5 separate regions of the Homo sapiens genome follow, and all the other regions are linked to region 3. Evidence: promoter capture Hi-C in 16 types of primary human blood cells and fetal thymus (Javierre and others, 2016). All regions are on one chromosome and are shown on one strand. The core of a region is centred on a gene start or on the middle of the fragment in contact, and the rest is flanking DNA. Distances in the headings are between cores, read along the strand shown. Region 1 has its middle 2.3 kb from the start of TXNL4A. Region 2 has its middle 9.0 kb from the start of NFATC1. Region 3 holds the start of CTDP1 (CTD phosphatase subunit 1). Region 4 overlaps SLC66A2 (solute carrier family 66 member 2). Region 5 holds the start of HSBP1L1 (heat shock factor binding protein 1 like 1).

Region 1 (2,759 bases), core at 65-2,564, 310 kb before region 3:
TACCTACCAGTATGACCATAATACAAGGCTGTGAAAGGAAAGTATCTTGGGTCCCTTCAACCTGCCTCCCATTCTAGTCAGTCATCCCTCTGCTCACTGAGACAGATGCACAGCTGACTGTCTCCTTTGGAAAGGCTGATCAGAAACTCACAAGAATGCAACTGTTCATCTCTCACATATCTGTGACCTGGAAGCCCCCTTCCCGCTTTGAGTCTTCCTGTCCTTGCTTCAAGTTGTCCCGCCTTTCCAGACTGAACCAATGTTCTTCTTACATATATTGATTGATGTCTCATGCCTCCCTAAAATGTATAAAACTAAGCTGTGCCCCGACCACCTCGGGCACATATCATCAGGACCTCCTGAGGCAGTGTCATGGATGCATCCTCAACCTTGGAAAAATAAACTTTCTAAATTAATTGAGACCTGTCTCAGATTTTTGGGGTTCACGAGGTACATAAATAACAAGCATGGGCAAGAATGTGGAAAAACTGAAACCCTCACACATTCCTGGTGAGAATGTAAAATGGTGTAGCCAATTTGGAAAACAATTTAGCAATACTTAAAAATGTTAAACAGTTACCACATGAAAACTTAAGTCCACACAAAAGCTTGTACATGAATGTTCATAGCAGCATTACTCATAATAGTAAAAAAATGCAAACAACCCAAATGTCAATCAACTGATGGATAAAATGTAGTATATCCATATAATGGAATAGTTTCTAATTTTTTGTTTTATTTAATGAAATATTCATCAGCAATTAAAAAGAACTAGCTGTTGATGTCTGCTACAATATGGACCTTGAGAACATTATGTTAAATGAAAGCAGTCACAAACGACTCCATATTTTGTGTTTCCATCTATATGAAATGTCTAGAATAGGTAAATCTATAGAGGCAGAAAATAGATTAGTGATTGCCAGGGGCTGAGGGAATGGGAGGGAAATGGGAAATGACTGTTAATGGGTATAGGTTTTCTTTTCGGGGTGATAACATTCTCCTAAAATTAGATTGTGGTATTGGTTCCACAACACTGAAAAACCATCTCACCTTCAATTGGTGAATTTTATAGTATATGGATTAGATCTCAACAAAAGTTTTTTTTTTTTTTTTTTTTTGAGACGGAGTCTGGCTCTGTCGCCCAGGCTGGAGTGCAGTGGTACAATCTCGGCTCACTGCAAGCTCCGCCTCCCGGGTTCACGCCATTCTCCTGCCTCAGCCTCCCGAGTAGCTGGGACTACAGGCGCCCGCCACCGCGCCCGGCTAATTTTTTTTTTGTATTTTTAGTAGAGACGGGGTTTCACCGTGTTAGCCAGGATGGTCTCGATCTCCTGACCTCGTGATCCGCCCGCCTCGGCCTCCCAAAGTGCTGGGATTACAGGCGTGAGCCACCGCGCCCGGCCAAAAGTTTTTATTAAAGAAAAGATTTATCTGGAGATGGATAGTGGTGATGGTTGCATAATATGAATGTACTTAATGTCCTTAAAAATTAAGGCGATAAATCTTGTTATAAGTAACACAATAAAAAATGAGTTTCAATAAATTATTTGGGGACATTTGAGTCTTATGCCTTAGCTTGGAACAACTCTCCTGTGAATAAAATGCTTGTGATGTGTTAAGCAACTGTGTTTGTATCTGAAATGAGTGACTACCAAAATGACGGTAAGGAATTTTTTAGAAGGCAATAGCCTGACCTTAGTAAGGGCTCAGATTTCTCCAGTGTGTACCTGGTGCCAATGAAGTACAGGAGATTTTGTTTTATCATCCCATCTCATGGATGAGGAAACTGAAGTTTGTTGAGATAACTTATGCAAGGCACAGATGAACCTGAACACGCCTTTATGTAACTAAAACCCTCACTGTTAACCACTATGCTTATATTCTGTGCCTCTGCTTTACTCAATTATAAAATGAAAGAGATTTAGATGATCTCTAATATCCTACCAACCTGAAATTGTTTCATTACAATAAAGCATTTCGTATATAATTGGGAAATATTCTGTATTATGTAAAAAGCTTAATCTGGCAGTGAGCTGCACTTGTGATTCTAGTATTTAAATTGTGGGTGCATATTATCAAAGCACCTTATGGTGCTGTGTCCCAGAGGAAACCAAACATGGAACCCATTTCAATCCCCATGCCAGCAGGCTCTTCAGACTGTAGTTCTCACCATGCCACAGCCCATCTGAGAGACACCACAGCATCTGCATAGTGATTTGTTGTTGTTTTTGAGATGGAGTCTCACTCTGTCACCCAGGCTGGAGTGAAGTGGTGCGATCTCAGCTCACTGCAACCTCCACCCCCTGGGTTCAAGCGATTCTCCTGCCTCAGCCTCCCTAGTAGCTGGGATTATAGGCGGGCGCCACCATGCCCGGGTAATTTTTTGTATTTTTAGTAGAGACGGGGTTTCACCATGTTGGCCAGACTGGTCTTGAACTCCCGACCATAGGCGATCCGCCGGCCTCGGCCTCCCAAAGTGCTGGGATTACAGGCGTGAGCCACCGCGCCCGGGCGTGATTTGTTTTAAATTTGTCATCTAAAGGACCACCAGGATAGCTAGATAGTAGACAAGAGTTTTACTATCAATATCAGTTTGCAAACCAGGGAGTCTCCAGCATGAACCCAAAGTGCTCTCTCAGAAGAACAGAGGTTAGAGGTTTTATTTTAAAAAGAGAAATATTAACTTATTTCTCTTTGAGAAAGTTCACTGGCACTAGTAAGGGTTTGGGGAGCTCTGACTGGTGAGCGAAGCCAGGGGG
Region 2 (2,734 bases), core at 233-2,732, 290 kb after region 3:
GGCCTCCCCTGGCCTGGAATCACTGCCCTGTCAGCGGGGGCAAGGGTAGTTGCACCCTGTCTTCTCAGTGAGCCACACCCAAGGCCCAGCCTCCCACCCATGAGTGTGGGGACCGGGAAGAAGGGAGCCCCCACCCCTCCACCAGACTCCCCAGGACCTAGCAGCCCCAGCAACAGGCAGATGGGGCAGGATGAGAAACACCGACATCCCGCCCTCCCAGAGTCACTCTCCCCCACCCACCTGTGTCCTCAGCTGCAGCAGACCTGCTGGTGGAGTGGCAGGGGGAGGGGAGGAGGGGGTGGCTTTGGTTCAAATATCAAATACATTCACCTTTCCTAGTAAAGATGGTTTTTTAAAAAATCAGGTCTTTTTCAATAGATGTGTCTTCACTTGCTGCGTGTCCTTAGGACCATTTCCAGAGACTGTCAATGGCTGGGGGTTTTTAACTTGACCAGTTTCCCGGGGACGGGTTCACAGAGCACGTCAGCTCTCGTGTGAGAAGGCGCTTGCCCACAGCCCGAGTTTGGATTCCAGTCCCCGGTACACCTACGGGAGCCAATAGTAACGGCCTTCACCTCTCAGGGTAGATCAATGAGAGGCACCTGCTAATGGCTCAAGACAGCTTAATCATTATTTCAGAACAATGCTGTTGTGAATTGAACTGCCTCCTCCAAAACGATTCATTGAAGTCCCCTGGTCTCTGGGAATGAGACCTAATTTGGTAAGTGACATCTCTACAGTTGTAACTAGTTAAGATGGTGTCAGTTAAGGGGACCCCAATGATGACTGGTGCCCTCACAGGAGGAGAAGACAGACAAAGGGAATGTGGTGAGCCGACAGAGGCAGAGACTGGAATGATGGCTCCACGAGCCAAGGAGCACCTGGGGCTACCACGAGCTGGAAGAGGAAGGGAAGGGACCTCCGTGGCCGGTTCCAGAGGGCACTTGGCCTTGCTGACCCTCGACTGTGCCTTCTGGCCTCCAGAACTGAGGACATGTTTCTGCCATTCAAGCCACCCACTTTGTGGTCATTTGTGATGGCAGCCCCAGGAAACCAACCCAAAGGGCAGTGGTTTTCTTTTTTCTTTTTTTTTTTTTTTTGAGACGGAGTCTCGCTCTGTTGCCCAGGTTGGAGTGCAATGGCACAGTCTCGGCTACTGCAACCTCTGCCTTCCTGGTTCAAGCAGTTCTCCTGCCTCAGCCTCCCGAGTAGCTGAGATTACAGGTGCCCACCATCGCACCTGGCTAATTGTTGTATTTTCAGTAGAGACGGGGTTTCACCATGTTGGTCAGACTGGTCTCGATCTCCTGACCTCGTGATCCACCTGCCTCGGCCTCCCAAAGTGCTGGGATTATAGGCATGAGCCACCGCGCCTGGCCGGGCAGTGTTTTTCATTCCTTCCAGGATACCACACCTGTCACAGTGCGCTGTGGCCTTTCCTACAATGCATGTCCCCTCTCAGGTGGCCTGGCAGCACCCACAGCCTCCACTAAGACGCTCCCTTCCAGGCCAGTGCCCTGACATGGGCGCCATGCTCCTACTGGACAGAGCACTCCCTGTGGGATGACCTTTGCTCGAGGACCTCCACTGCCTGGCCTAAACTCCAGGGGGGTCACGGGAATGTTCCCACTCCCGCCATAGCCCACGCAGGGGCAGAGCCCACCCGAGGCCAGGGAGGTGTGCCTGCTGCTGCCCCACAGCCGCAGGGAATGGCGTTCTCTTCCTCTGAAGCCGGGGCCTGAAGAGTGCCCTCCTGGGGAAGATGTGGACCCCGGGGCTGCCATGGAGACAGGGACTCCAGAGGCCGATTCCATGCCCTGCTTGAGCCCCTGAGTCTAGTGGGACCTGAGAGCCTCCCCTGGGGTCTTCACCTTGGTGAGGAAGCAACTTCCCTTTTCTGCTCAATCGAGTTTAATGTGGATTCTGTCACTTGCACCTGAAGGAGGCCTAATTCACAGGAAGGCCATGGCTGAACAGGGTCCTCGCTTCCTCCATGGGGGTGGGGCCGCAGGGACACAGGCAGATGAAACAGCAACTCTAGCCAGAGGGAAGCTCCCGGTGAGGAGGCCGGGCAAGCCCGGCACAGCTGCTGCAGCCATCTGGGCCTCACACACCACGCTAGGCAAAAAAAAGTCCCCTTTAAACCTCGATTTCTCTTAGAAAGCACAAACAGGGCTGAGCTGACACTCCACTGGTGTGCACGGGGGCGGGGAAAGGATGCCACATGTGTGTCTCAGGGAGACATGACCCCTTCCCTGGCCCTCGAGTGCCAGGGGCCCGGGTCAGCCTGAGGCCAATGAGGACAGCTTCACGGAGATGCAATGGTCCTGCACAGCTGTGTCTTAAGAAGTCAGGAATGTGTGCAAAGCCCAGGGCAGAGGCGCTCTGTGCTTCGGAGCCTCTTCTCTGTTCTGCACTTCGCAGGACAAGCACACCCACCCCGGGTGTGTGCCCCTCTCACAGTGCCGGAGGGCTGAGGCAGGAGGGCCCAGAGCCGCGTCCTGATCCTGCAGGCCTGCTCTTTTTGCTAACGCTGGTCGAGAGGTAAATAAATCACATTTTTAGTTTCTGGCAAGAGTTTGGGTTTGTCCCTGTGAACTCACAATTGTTTTCCTCTTGCAAAATAATAATACTTTTCAAATGGCAATATTCCAACATTTTTCTTTAAACTACTTGGTTTACCCAAATCTGTTTACCCAAATCTGTTTAATTAGGCAGTAACACAAGGCAAGTC
Region 3 (2,700 bases), core at 73-2,572:
GGGACGAGGAGCCGCGGCTGCCGAGGAGGGAAGAGAGTGGCATCCCCAGAAGGAGCGGCACCTTTCCCAGAGGGAGCTCACGCCCGGCCCACTGCGGGCTGGAGTGTCCACCTCTCCCTGGAGTTTCTGTTCTCACAATCAAAACTACCAGAGCCAGGCGCACACGCGTGTCCACTTGCCCGCCCATCCCAGAACACAAGGGTAGATTCAAACATGGCTGGACACTTCGGTGCTACGGAAACATATCCCCTTCTGGGGTCAGAGCACAGCTACTGAGAGCTGTGGAGTCTGTCACAACGCCCACGTCACCCTGAAGCAGCCTGCGACAATGCCCACTGTGGTCAACCACGGGGCTACTGCCTTCGCTGCAGGCCTGGGTTCCGCCCGTTCCTTAGCCACGAAACAGAACTGCACCAGGTTTTACAACTGCGTTTCACAAAGTTTACAAAAATTTAAAGATGTGCACACACCCAACAGTTTATATTTCAATAACAGGTCTGGAGCCTGCCTGATGACTCTTGTGCTCACAGCCACCCATGAGTTTTCCTAAGTCACAAAGGTGGAGCTAAAGGAAGGGGCGGGGACTATCACTGCAGAAAGAAAGAAACAAACATAGCTTTTCCAAACAGTAACTTCGTGTCGCTACGCAGGACCCTTTCCTTTTATCTCAAAATGCTCCCCGTTGGTAAAACCACAGGTGGTGACTATCCAGTTTTAGGGGAGAAGCGCAGTGCCTGCGTCCCGCTTTATCGCTCCCTCACCAGGGGCGCCCCTGCCCACCGCGGACGCAGCAGCCCGGGGGTCCTCCAGGATCCCTCCCCGGAGCCGCCCGCCCTCGGCCCCGCCCGGCTCAGCACACTCACCCTGGGGCGACCACCTGGCCCGGCTGCGCGCACAGCTCCCGCACCACGCCCGCGCGCTCCGACCTCAGCCTGCGTTCCGGCCGCGCGGGGCGCACGCAGCCCCCGGAGGCTACACGGGACTGAGAGGCCCCGGAGGACTGCGCGGAGGCGGCGGCCTCGAACACGGCCAGCACCGAGCCGATGCGCACGGCCGCGCCCGCCGCCACCCTCCACTCCAGCAGGCGCAGCGGCGCGGGCCCCGGGCAGCGCACCTCGGCCACAGCCGCCGTCGGGGCGCCCTCGGCAGGAACGCGACCCGCGGCCGGCACCTCCATCGCGGACAGAGGGCGGGCGGGCGGTCGGTACGGGGCCTGCGCTGCGCTCAGAGCGCAGCGCCTACCGCGGCGACACAACCCAGGCGGCGACGCTGTAGTTCCTCTCGGTACCGGCTTCCACCCGTCGCCTAGCCCGCGCCGACTTCCTGGAGGGCGCGTGACGTCACGCAAGGGCGCCGCGTACGTGCGTACGTGCGCGTGTAAATACGAGCGCCGCGCGGGGCCGGAGCCGGCTCCGTCCTGGGACCAACCCTGCGTGCCGGCCGTGAAGAACTGCGTTCCTGAGCCCTACCTACTTTTCCTCGGAGCGCCGGCACCGTGGAGCAGCGGCATGCAACGCGGGCCGCTGTCGCCCAGTCCCAGTGACGGTCTTGGCGCGCTCGGAACTACGTATCCCGGCGTGCACCGCGGACAGAGCATGGCGGGACTACGAGTCCCAGCGTTCAACGCAGGCCTGCGTGCCATTACCCCATCACGCGCTGAGACCCAGCATCCCGAGACTACGAGTTCCGGCATGCACCGCGAGCCGCTCTCCTCCACTCCCATCGCGCACTGTGAGTCGCAACGTCGCGGGACTACGGGTCCCGGCATGCCTTGCGCGCCGCGGGCCCAGAGACGTGAGGCTGTCGGCGTCCTGGTGGCCCCGCCTCGTGTCCCCCCCCGGACCCCACGCCGCGGGAGCTTGGGGGTTGCGGTCTTCTCTTCCTCCGACCTCACCTTCGATGCGGAAGCGCAGGGGCAGGTGCGCCGCCCTCGGCCCGCGCAGGCGGTGGGCCCGTCTGGGGCAAGGCGCCCGGAAGCGCCTGGTTGGTTCAGAAAATCGGACCGCAGCGGGAGGGCGGGCACCGGCGCGTGGTCTCAGTGGCCCCAGGCGAACCCTGATGAGCAGCAGCCGCAAGTGGCTTACTAAAGGAGCCACTTTCTACGTTTGTCTGGAATTTACGTGAATTAAGCTGGCGGGCGGGCGGCCAGGCCTGTAGTCTCAGCACTTTGGGAGGCTCAGCACTTCGGGAGGCTGTGGCGGGCGGATCACCTGAGCCTGGGAGTTGGAGACCAGCCTGCGCAACGTAGCAAGACCCTATCTCTAAAACAGATTCATTAATACTTAGCCAGGCGCGGTGGCTGAGGTCCCAGCTACTCGGCAGGCCCAGGCTGGCCTGAGCCAGACCGCTCTGGACTGTTTTAATTTTTTCAGCCTTAATACCTGCCAGAATTTTTTTTTTACTATGTATCTTTGTCCTTACGTATATAAATTTTATATACAATTGAGATTATCCTGTATTTGCTTTTCCCCCCTCACTTTTATATGGTGACTTTTCTCATGTTAGGCTGAATACTAACATTTTGGAAACTGTCGGCCTGAAAACGAGCGGAGACACAGTTTCTCTAAGTAGAGAGTTTATTTGGGCCACACTTGAGCACAAATTCAAGGCGCCCTGAATGTGTACTCCGATTAGCAGTTAACAGTGGATTTTAAAGGCAAAAAAGGGGGCCAGGGAGTGGACTAATAGGAACTTGTTTGT
Region 4 (2,700 bases), core at 11-2,510, 260 kb before region 3:
TGTTGATAAGGGGGTGCTGAGGGGGCTGTGGGGTTCCCCCTGCTTCTGCTCTGTGTTGATAAGGGGGTGCTGAGGGGGCTGTGGGGTTCCCCCTGCTTCTGCTCTGAGTCGATAAGGGGTTGCTGAGGGGGCTGCGGGGTTCCCCCTTCTTCTGCTTCGTGTTAAGGGGATGCTGCATGGGAGCTGGAGAGAGGTGGGGGCTGTGGTGGTTGTTGCTAGGTCTTCCAGTTTTTCAGAAGTTGGGAAATGAGGCTGTTATGTAGGATCTCCTGACTTTGACATGTTGGTGACCAGTTCAAGTTTTGAAAATTCCCTTCAGGCCAAACTGCAGGCTGATTGAGATTCCCGCGCTGGAACAGTCAGGGGTTGGGGCTTTCTATGAGTGCGTGCCACACACAGCCCAGCCTTGGAGGTGGTGGCTCTGCAGGCATGTGTCCCAGCTCTGTGGTGGCTCTGGGGAGGCAGAGACCGCAGGGAGGCAGAGACTGCCAGTCATTGGCCTGTGGTTCTGCCCTGCAGAGGCTCCTAGCTGAGCTGAAGAGATGCTCAACCCTGGTCAAAAGTCAGCAAGAAGGCCTGGGAGCCTGCAGCTAGAGGAGCTCGGGGCCAGGGAGGCGTGGGGGCGGGGGTGGTGCAGAGCCTTGGCTGTCTTCTCTTCTGTGGGAGTGTGTGTGCATGTGGAAATTTCGCATCTGGCCCACCTGCTGCTCTGCACACTATCCCCGCCTTCCCCAGGCAGGAAGCAGGGCTGCTGTGAGCTAGAAACTGGGCTTTTTGCCTGGTGGCAACCCGGAGGCTGCAGGGAGGGCCTGGGGCACCTGGGCTGAGCTGTGGGAGGGGACTCAGGGCCACTAGACCCGGGTACCAGTGCCTGGGCCACTGGTTCTGGGGAGCGCCAAATGTGCCGAAGGGTTCTGAGTCAGGCTGTATGGGGGTCTTACGGCCCCTCCCCGGAGCCCTACCCCACCTGGAGTCTGGGAGATGGGCAACAGGTGCCTGGTCACTGTGGTGTTTGCCAACTCCTGGGCTCCTTCCCCGGGATGCCGCTTGGGGCCTGGGAGAGGGGGAGTGGGTGGGCAGTCTTTCCTGCTGCAGGTTCAGGACTGGGTGAGGCGGCGTGGGTGGGCCTCCCTTCTGACCCGGGTCTCTCCCGCTGCAGGTTCGGGATTGGGAGAGGCGGCATGGGCGGGCCTCCCTCCCGACACAGGATCTTTCCTGCTGCAAGTTCGGGACCAGGAGAGGCGGCATGGGTGGGCCTCCCTCCTGACACAGGATCTTTCCTGCTGCAGGTTTGGGACCAGGAGAGGCGGCATGGGTGGGCCTCCCTCCTGACCCAGGTGTCTCCCGCTGCAGGTTCGGGACTGGGAGAGGCGATGTGGGTGGGCCTGACACAGGGTCTCTCCGGCTGCAGGTTCAGGACTGGGAGGGGCGGCGTGGGTGGGCCTCCCTCCTGACCCGGGTCTCTCCCGCTGCAGGTTCGGGACTGGGAGAAGTGGCATGGGTGGACCTCCCTCCTGACACAGTGTCTCTCCCGCAGGTTTGGAAGGCGCTTTGAGTCCCCGCTGCTGTGGCAGAGCGCCATCATGATCCTGACCATGCTGCTGATGCTGAAGCTGTGCACCGAGGTCCGTGTGGCCAACGAGCTCAACGCCAGGCGCCGCTCCTTTACAGGTTGGTGGCCGGCGCTTCGGAATAAAGTCGCAGGGAATCAGGGCGTAGGTGACTCTGGTGAAACAAAAGCCACTCTAATCTGTCCTGATCCAAGCAGCTTTCATTTCACCAAGTGGTGCTGTTATCTCCAGCTGATAGTGTTTTCAGTATGTTAAATGACTTCAGTTAAACGGTTTATGACTTGAAGCAATTCAAGATAATAGTTTCTTCACTGGAAGTTGGGTGAGGCCTCAACACATCTTCACGGTTCCTCTTGGCTGTGAGCGCCATCCCAGACGCTTTCTGTGTCAGAACAAGAAGTGCTCATCTGTGCCTGGCCCATCAGGTCAGACGGTACCAGGTCAGGCGTTTCGTCTGTGTGCGTGGCCTGTACACAAAACACACCCTTTCAGTTCTGCTGTGACTCAGGGGTACCTTAGCCAGGGTCTTCCTCACAGACCTTGTTAAACAGACCCAGAGTCCCCCCGCAGGGTCAGGCAGCCCCTTTATGCGGAGCACACTGCAGTGTTGACAGCTGGGCAGGACCAATCACATGCTTAGCACACATGGCTCCTTAACCTTTGGCAGCTTAGAAAATAGAAAATACTTCTTCCAGTTTTTGCCTATTGCACAGTTTGTTCCAGTCTGAACTCTGTTTGAACATGCAGGCTGGCGGGCTTCTTGTGTGCAGGAGGGTTAAATCCTTCCTTTTGTTTTTCTTCTAATTACTAAATCTAAGACAGCACTCACTTTGGCTTTGAGAGAGAGAGTGATCTCAGCTATCACTTGGAGAAGAGTATCTTCCCAGAGTTTGTTAAGTTTGGGGCTTCTGTGGATTTGAGCTCTTGCCGGGGAGCTGTGTCCCTGTGTTTCTATTCCTGACCGCTACTTCGTCCTGTTGGAGAGGATTCCCACCTCTGCCTTTTTGTCTGCTTCTGTTTCTAGACTGAGGTGACTGTGTGCTGCTTTCAGCCTCTGTAGAAACCAGACCAGCCTCCAGCCAGTGTGACCTGGGCCAGTTAGTGTCGTTGGGGCCACAGAGATGAGCTC
Region 5 (2,747 bases), core at 1-2,500, 280 kb before region 3:
GACTTCTGACAAAGGTGCTAAGGCCTTTGGATTCAGAGGGAAAGGAAAGTCTTTTCAACAAGCAGCGCGGGAATCATGAGGGCCACGTGCAGACGGGGCAGGGACCCATCCCCCTCCTCACACCACACACCATGAATGCAGGAGATCACACACCTTGGCCCAGAGCCAAGGCCATAAAGCATGCAGAGGAGGATGCAGGAGAAAATCTCGTGACCCTGCGCTCCTCAAGAATTCTTATGAAATTACTTACCAGGTCACACAGAAATACCACCATTGCTACTGAAAGCGTTTCCTGTTTATATACTGCTTTGTAGTTTACAGACTGACGTCCCACACCATTCACGGTGTAATCTACTCCTCACCCTGCGACCGTGTCCAGGGTGAGATGAGAACAGTGAGGCTGAGAAGCACAAAATTCTCCCAGCTGGGGGTTCAAGATCCCAGGGAGCCCCACGTACCATGGTGTGAATCTAGAATCCCGTCGACATAGGAGGAGGCCCCACCTCTGAACCATGCCAGGGCTTTCTACCTTTGTCAGGAAATTTACGTTAGGGTTTGCACAACGCCCAACACATTCCTTCAGATTCCAGGTCTCTTCCTCATAGCCAGTCCTCTTGTGGGCCTGGAACTCTTTGGCAAGTAGGAAGGCCTGGGGAGCGGGAGGATTTCCCGGAAGAGGCCGGAGCCCTGGGCGCTGCGACACTCGTGGGTCCCCTTTCGGGCACCCTTTGGCCCAGTTGTTTCCCCACTGACCCCGACCTCAATGCCCCCCAGTACTGCAGGGCTCCCCCCAGGACCTCAGGCCCCCCGAGGATCGCAGGGTCCCCCAGGACAGCAGGGCTCCCCCCTGCACCTCAGGCCCCCCCAGGACCGCAGGGTCCCCCAGGTCTTCAGGGGCCCCCCCAGGACCACAGGCCTCCCAGGCACTCAGGACTCCTCAGGACCACAGGAGTCCTCAGGATCGCAGGCCCCCCAGGACCTCAGGGCCCCACGAAGACCGCAGGGCACCCCCAGCACCGCAGGCTCCCCCCCCAGGACCTCAAAACCCCCCAGAACCGCAGGGGCGCCCCCATCCAGAGAGAAGCAGGAGTCGGGGAGGGGCTCACCGCGTCCCGCAGCGCGCGCCCGCCGGGGGCTTCAGGGCCCCGCACGTCCATGTGGACCGCTGGCCGGGGGCGTCAGTGGGGGGTCCCGTGGGCCGCGCGGACCCGGCGCGAGGTGGCGACAGCTAAGCTCCGCGATTCCCGTATGGGCCGCCGGGAGGCCTCGGGCGGAGCGCGCTGCGTTCCAGGGCGGAGGCGGGGCCGGAGCGGAGAGGCGGGCGCTGCACCTGCAGGGACGCAATGTCACCGAGCGGCCGCCTCGGAGGACTGGTCCGCGCCCCCAGGCTCTGCGGCTTCCCGAGCCGAGCCGAGCCGAGGCCCCGGGACGGCCTGGGCGGAGCCGCCTTACTCAAGAGGGCCCGTGGGCGCCACCGGCCACCTACACCCCCAAAACGCTCCGCACGGGCAGTGCATGGGCCTCGGTCACCCCTGCTGCGTTTCTCAGAGACGGGGGCTCGCTCTGTGGCCCAGGCTGGGGTGCAGTGGCGACTATGGCTCCCCGCAGCCTCGACTTCCCGGGCCCAAGCGATCCTCCTGCCTCGGCCTGGCCAGTAGCTGGGACCACGGGCGCGCGCCACCAGGTCCGGCTGATCTTTTTTATTTTTTGTAGAGACGGGATCTTACTATGTTGCCCAGGCTGGTCTCGAATTCCTGGGCACAAGTGATCCTCCTGCCTCGGCCTCCCAAAGTGCTGGGACCGCAGGCCTGGGCCACCACGCCGGGCCTTCCCTGGCCTCTTTCACACCTGGGTTGTGGCTCGTCACCTTGTGGGTGACCTCCCAGGACGGTGTTTTAGGGTTACCAGTCTTGTTGCCATGTCTGTGCCCCTGTGCAGCGCTGTGGGAACAGGGCTATGTCTGGTCACCCCAGCATCCCTAGGGCACAGCCCAGTGACCACACCTGGAAGCTCTGGTGTCTCCATGTGCGGATAAATAAAACACAGCCACCCAGCACCACCGCTGTGGCGTGGCGGTTCCCGCCAGGTTACTTCAGGGCGGATGTCTGTGGCCTGAACCCTAAAGGCCAGGCGGTGAGTCCAGGCCACGGTGCCCAGCGAGGAGCAGGTGTCCCTGAGAACCCAAACAGCCCGGAGGGGATGTGAGAACCACCACAGGGAGCAGGCCCATCACACAGACGGCGCAAAGAGGCAGAAAATTAGCTCAAAAGCAGCTTAGGGACAGAAGCACGCTCATCTCTAGAGTTGTCCTGCTGCCCACGAGTGCCCCACATGTGAGTCCTAATAAACTCACCTACTCACCAAGCTGGACTCCGCCCAGTCATTCTTTGGTCTCTCAGCAACTCCCACTTTAGGGTAAGGTTTTAAATGTGATTCTCGGTTTTTCTCATTACAACCAGTCATCAGGAAAACACAAACCAAAACCACAATGAGCTCCCACTGCAACCCACCAGCATGGCTAGAATCAGAGAGACAAACGTAAGTCCGAGAGGCGTGTGGGGATTGTGGCCCCCCCCACGCAGCCGGTGGGCTGTGAAAGGCTGCAGTGCTGTGAAAAAGTCGGGTGGGTCCTCAGAAGTGAAGCAGTTTCCACAGGGCCCAGCCGCGCCACCCCTAGGCATATACCGAAACGACAGCGCGAGTGCACCAAGTCTACTGCAGCATCAGTAATGCTCAAAAGGTGGAAA

Evidence for each region. Contacts are between HindIII fragments. The CHiCAGO score rates a contact against its expected background, and 5 or more counts as called.
Region 1: a fragment that was not itself captured here is called in contact with the fragment with the promoter of CTDP1 in region 3 in 1 of 17 cell types (monocytes); the score reaches 6.7 in monocytes.
Region 2: a fragment that was not itself captured here is called in contact with the fragment with the promoter of CTDP1 in region 3 in 1 of 17 cell types (naive CD8 T cells); the score reaches 5.0 in naive CD8 T cells.
Region 4: a fragment that was not itself captured here is called in contact with the fragment with the promoter of CTDP1 in region 3 in 1 of 17 cell types (monocytes); the score reaches 5.5 in monocytes.
Region 5: the fragment with the promoter of HSBP1L1 here is called in contact with the fragment with the promoter of CTDP1 in region 3 in 1 of 17 cell types (neutrophils); the score reaches 5.2 in neutrophils.

The regions. Positions count from the first base shown.
Region 1 is chr18:79,989,467-79,992,225 of GRCh38, reverse strand. It overlaps a transcript of TXNL4A not described here. Among named protein-coding and RNA genes, the nearest start is that of TXNL4A, 2.3 kb to the right of the region's middle. The HindIII fragment of the contact is 1,408 bases long and covers 611-2,018 here.
Region 2 is chr18:79,385,574-79,388,307 of GRCh38, reverse strand. No RefSeq gene overlaps it. Among named protein-coding and RNA genes, the nearest start is that of NFATC1, 9.0 kb to the left of the region's middle. The HindIII fragment of the contact is 3,390 bases long and covers 1-2,734 here.
Region 3 is chr18:79,678,425-79,681,124 of GRCh38, reverse strand. It overlaps CTDP1 (CTD phosphatase subunit 1), which reads right to left and starts at 1,322. Exons shown (of 13, transcript NM_004715.5): 1 at 864-1,322. The coding sequence starts at 1,177. CTDP1-DT (CTDP1 divergent transcript) reads left to right here and starts at 1,380. Exons shown (of 5, transcript NR_136643.1): 1 at 1,380-1,731. RefSeq lists enhancers at 1,181-1,689, 1,690-2,197. The HindIII fragment of the contact is 26,865 bases long and covers 1-2,700 here.
Region 4 is chr18:79,942,300-79,944,999 of GRCh38, reverse strand. It overlaps SLC66A2 (solute carrier family 66 member 2), which reads left to right. Exons shown (of 6, transcript NM_025078.5): 3 at 1,538-1,671. Among named protein-coding and RNA genes, the nearest start is that of SLC66A2, 8.0 kb to the left of the region's middle. RefSeq lists a silencer at 676-735. The HindIII fragment of the contact is 6,504 bases long and covers 1-2,700 here.
Region 5 is chr18:79,963,146-79,965,892 of GRCh38, reverse strand. HSBP1L1 (heat shock factor binding protein 1 like 1) reads right to left here and starts at 1,250. Exons shown (of 4, transcript NM_001136180.2): 1 at 1,107-1,250. The coding sequence starts at 1,157. RefSeq lists a silencer at 1,024-1,593 and an enhancer at 2,689-2,747. The HindIII fragment of the contact is 8,145 bases long and covers 1-2,747 here.